2 separate regions of the Homo sapiens genome follow, and region 1 is linked to region 2. The links are contacts of gene promoters, found by promoter capture Hi-C in human tissues and cell types (Jung and others, 2019). All regions are on one chromosome and are shown on one strand. The core of a region is centred on a gene start or on the middle of the fragment in contact, and the rest is flanking DNA. Distances in the headings are between cores, read along the strand shown.

Region 1 (2,700 bases), core at 108-2,607, 85 kb after region 2:
CCTCTCTCCCCATGTTCATTGCCGCAGTTTGTTCACCTCCAACCTTACTCATGGGTATGCTCCTCTCCTACCCGCATTCAACCTAACACCCAGATACCTGAGGTGCCAACACACAGCCAGTGCTACTCCTCATTCCTTTCTTCCACGTTTCATTCCCATATGGAATGAAATTCCCTCCTCTCTCACTGGACACTCTTGGGTTCAGTTTAGGTCCACTCTCCTCCTTACACCTTTCTGCTCTCAGTGTTGTTCACTTTTCTATTTTGATAATAGGTCATAGGCCTCATCACCTGTATGGAATTCATTTTTTGTGGAATTTTAGAAGGTGACACTGACCTTATCAGGGGCTCACCTTCAGCCTAGCACCTAAATGTGCAGAGGCAAGTGGACAAAAAGGAACTGGGAATAGAGTCCAGGCTTCACTCAGTACCTCTTTGTAGTGACAGCAGAAAGAGTAGTATGGGTGGTGGGTGTGAGATGTTGTGTCACGGGAACGGAGAACAGGAAGTGTTTCCTGGGCACTGAGAAGTGTCTCCTGTCTCACGGTGACCTCTTCCCCAGCACAGTTTAGCTGCAGAATACACACTGTTGTCCTCAGCACATAGATCATTCTCAAAGATAGACCATATGTTGTCATGAAACCAGTCTTGAAACATTAAAAAAAAATTGAAATATGTAATCCCAGCACTTTGGGAGGCTGAGGCCAGTGGATCACGAGGTCAGGAGATCAAGACCATCCTGGCTAACACAGTGAAACCCCGTCTCTACTAAAAATACAAAAAATTAGCCTGGGCGTGGTGGTGGGCACCTGTAGTCCCAGCTACTCGGGAGGCTGAGGCAGGAGAATGGTGTGAACCTGGGAGGTGGAGCTTGCAGTGAGCAGAGATGGCGCCACTGCACTGCAGCCTGGGCAACAGAGCAAGACTCCATCTCAAAAAAAAAAAAAAATTGAAATAATATCAAGCCACTTCTTTGACCACAATGGAATAAAACAAGAAATTGGTAGCAAGAGGAGTTTTGGAAACTATCCAAATACATAGAAATTAAACAGTATGTACCTGAATGACCAGTGGGTCAATGAAGAAATTAAGAAGAAAATTAAAAGTTTTCTTGAAACAAATGATAATGAAAACATAACATACCAAAATGTATGGGATACAGCCAGGGCAGTATAAAGACGGAATTTTATAGCTCTAAGTCCCCACATCAAAAAAGAGAAAAGCTTCAAATAAACAATATAATGATGCATCTTAAAGAATTAGATAAGCAAGAGCAAACCAAACTTAAAATTAGTAGAAGAAAATAAATAATAAAGATCAGAGCAGATACAAATGAAATTAATAAAAAGTGTTTTTTCTGATAATTTAAACAAAATTAGCAAACCTTAGCCAGACTAAGAAAAAAGTAGAGAAGATATAGATAAATAAAATCAGAAATGAAAAAAAGACACATTACAACTGATACCACAGAAATTCAAAAAATTATTAGTGGCTACTCTGAGCAACTATACACCAATAAATTGGAAAATCTAGATGAAATGAACAAATTCCTGGATACTTACAACCTATCGATATTGAACCTGGAAGAAATTAAAAGCCTGAACAGTCCAATAATAAATAATAAAATAGAAGCCACAATAAAGTCTCCTCATAAAGAAAAGCCCAAGACCTGATGCCTTCACTGCTGAATTCTACTGAACATTTAAGAAAAAATTAATGCCAATCTTACCGATACTATTCAGAAAAACAGAGGAGGGACTATTACTGAACTCATTAAAAGAGGCCAGCATTATCTTGATATCAAAACCACACAAAAACCCACCAAAAAAGGAAGAGAAACCATAGGCCATAGGCCATAGGCCAATATCTCTAATAAATATTGATGCAAAAATCCTAAACAAAACACTAGCAAACCTGAAGGGGGCCTGCCCCTTCACACCTGTGGGTATTTCTCGCAAGGTGGAGATGAGAGACTGAGAAAAGGAAATAAGACACAGAGACAAAGTATAGAGGAAGAAAAGTGGGCCCAGGGGACCAGCACTCAGCAAGTGAGACCTGCACCAGCACTGGTCTCTGAGTTCCCTCAGTATTTATTGGTCACTATCTCTACAATCTTGGTGAGGGAGATGTGGCAGGACTATAGGGTAATGGTAGGGAAACCATTACCAAATCAGCAGGAAAACATATGAGCAAAGGAATCTGTGTCATAAATAAGTTTAATGAAAGGTGCTGTGCCTGGATGTGCACGTAGGCCAGATTTATGTTTAACTTTACACAAACATCTCAGAGCAGTAAAGAGTAGCAGAGCAGTATTGCTGCCAGCATGTCTCACCTCCAGCCATAGGGCGGTTTTCTCCTATCTTAGTAAATAGAATGTATGGTCAGGTTTTACACTGAGACATTGCATTCCCAGCGACGAGCAGGAGACAGATGCTTTCCTCTTATCTCAACTGCAAAGAGGCCTTCCTCTTTCACTAATCTCCCTCAGCACAGACCATTTACAGGTGTCAGGCTGGGGGACTGTAAGGTCTTTCCCTTCCCATGAGGCCATATCTCAGGCTGTCTCAGTTGGGTGAAACCTGGACAATACCCAGGCTTTCTTGGGCAGAGGTCCCTGCGGCCTTCTGCAGTGCATTGTGTCCCTGGTTAATCGAGAATGGAGAATGGTGATGACTTTTACCAGGCATACTGCCTGCAAACA
Region 2 (2,700 bases), core at 46-2,545:
CACACATTGTTGGTGACAGTGTAAATTAGTTCACCCATTGTGGAAAGCAGTGTGGTGATTCCTCAAAGAGCTAACAATAGATCTACCATTCAACCCAGCAATCCCATCACTGGGTGTATACCCAGAAGAAAAGAAATCATTCTGCCATAAAGACATATGCACATGAATGTTCATTGCAACACTATGCACAATAGCGAAGACACAGAATGAACCCAAATGCCAATCAATGACAGATCGGTTACAGAAAATGTGGTACATGTACACAATGAAATACTATGCAGTCCTAAAAAAGAATGATATTATGTCTTTTGCAGGAACATGGATGGAACTGGAGGCCATTATTCTTAGCAAACTAATGCAGGAACAGAAAACCAAATACTGCATGTTCTCACTTATCAGCGTGAACTAAATGAGGAGGCTCATGGACATCAAGAGGGAAACAACACACACTGGGGCCTCCTTGAGGGTGGAGGATGAAAGGTGGAAGAGGAGAAAAAAAATAACTTTTGAGTACTACACTTAGTAACCAGGTGAAGAAATCATATACACCACAAATCCCATGACACGACTTTATCTGCATATGTACCCCGAACCTAAAATAAAATGAAAGAAAAATCAAATAAAAACAACAATCTCACCTTCCTCCCAGAATCTGCAGGAGAAACAGTGTCTCTGAAACTTTTATTTACATGGACACCAAGAGAAAGGAGAGGGTGTAGCTAGAGCCCAGGTGTGTGACAGTCAGGTGAGAGTGGCCCTTACCTGGCAGAGCCAAGCAGCCTAGTGTGGAATAGGTTCATGCAAGAAATTTCTCTGCTTCTCTCCACAGATCCTCCTGAGGATCAAGGTCAGTGCTCTCCCAGAACGTTCAAAAGCAGAGAGAATCATTACCTTCTAGGGCTAATGTATTTCCCCAAAATCTCCAACTTTTTTCTTTTCAGCCGTTGTACAAATTGGGAAAATGTACACTTTCTGGGTATATTCTGCATAGATGAGAAAAGGCTTGAGAGGCATAAAGGCTGGGCTTTACAACCACTACCGCTCACTCCATCATCTTTATCTATGCATTTCCCTGGTAACCCAATCCACAGCCTGGTAACTCCCCCACTGTCACTTCTGCTGCATTACAGATACAGACCTGCAAATAGCTATGGTTGTGACTGAGTTTCTTCCTAACAACTAAACCTGTCTAAAGCTGCAAGGAAATCTTGCTGGGAGGAGCTTGGAATCTGGAATGAAGCCCGAGGGCAAGGCTGAAGTGGGTCATTTAAATGCTGCAACTCAGAGATTCACTCAGAAGACTGGACTCAATTCTGAAGGTCGCCAAGAAGGAGAGAACAATGTCTTCTTTACCCGTGAGTTGAAAAGGCACAGCCTTCAAAAATTTCGTGTCACACAAACCAAGAAAGAAATGGGAGATTTTATGAGATGAAAATATGAGCATTTTTGCTGTGAATGCTTTACTTAGAGCTATTGAGGTGTGGAATAGAAACCCTGAGGCTATGGTATCTGAGATGCTTGTGGGGATTGCGGTGTGGACCCTGGACCAGTGTAACCTTCGGTGAGTGTGAGGTGGTGTCTGATGAGCATAAACTCTGCGGAGATAATGTGACTTTAAGTGGGAGGTGGATTACCCACCAGGACGAGCAGGTGTGTGAATGGAGAGTAAAGGGGTGAGTCGGCTTTGTTTCCTGTCTATGATGTGAGTATGTGTGTGAGCACAGCCAGACCAGTGCATGAGCATCGTTATGTGCACAGTGAGCAGGTGTGTGTGACGCAGTGAGTGGTGTGGCTCTGTGTGACTGTGAGTGTGTGTGCTGGGATGTGACTGTATGTTGAAGTGGGATCATGCATGTGGCTTTCTTCACATGTGAATGTTTCTCCCCACACAGCAGCACCTCTGATGTGAATCCCATGTGGCTTAACTGGTGGGGATCTTGGGGATTGTGAGTTACCAAGGACTTATTTCAGATCACTTGTGAGAGCAGAATGTATGATCAGTAGATGTCTCTTCCCAGTAAGAGTGGGGAAGAGGAATGCAGACTATGGGGGTGATGGTTCCTCAGGTGGGGTCTGCACAGAGTGACCACTGTCTCTTGCCTCCCAGGCTCAGCTTGCCTGTCCCTAGCCCATCCAGTTCTTCCCACTGTGTGACAGGAGGGTGTGCAGATACTGGTTTGTTAGGGAAGGACATTAGAGGCCGTGATTTCAGAGACTGAATCACACAAAATATCCACTGTAAGCTCTGTCTGAACTGAGACTAAACTTGTTCTACACCCATGAAAGAACAAGTTAAGTCTCAGTTCAGAAGGAGCTTACAGTGGATATTAATCAACCAAGCAGCTGGGTTCACTGGCTTATGGCTATAATCCCACCAATTTTGGAGGCAAAGATGAGAGGATAACGAGGCCAGAAGTTTGAGACCAGTCTGGGTATCAGAGTGAGACCCTTTCTTTAAAAAACTTTAAATATTTGACTGGCAGAGAGGCAGGTACCTTTCTTCCCAGCTATTCAAGAGGGAGCAGATGTGTGAGATTCACTGCAGCCCAGGAGTCTGAGGTTTCAGTGAACCATGATTGCATCCCTGCATGTCAGCCTGGGTGACAGAGCAAGAACCTATCTCAAAAGTACAGAAAAATCATCTCATCTACTTGTAGTCATCATAGAAATCAATCATTCCCTCCAGTTATGTCCCTGACC

What was found. Contacts are between HindIII fragments. The study calls those that stand out against the background at their distance.
Region 1: a contact is called between a fragment that was not itself captured here and the fragment with the promoter of LGALS13 in region 2, in 2 of the 25 tissues and cell types used here (mesendoderm cells and neural progenitor cells).

What each region holds. Positions count from the first base shown.
Region 1 is chr19:39,686,435-39,689,134 of GRCh38, forward strand. No RefSeq gene overlaps it. Among named protein-coding and RNA genes, the nearest start is that of LGALS14, 17 kb to the right of the region's middle. The HindIII fragment of the contact is 8,167 bases long and covers 1-2,700 here.
Region 2 is chr19:39,601,229-39,603,928 of GRCh38, forward strand. It overlaps LGALS13 (galectin 13), which reads left to right and starts at 1,296. Exons shown (of 4, transcript NM_013268.3): 1 at 1,296-1,355. The coding sequence starts at 1,341. The HindIII fragment of the contact is 10,640 bases long and covers 1-2,700 here.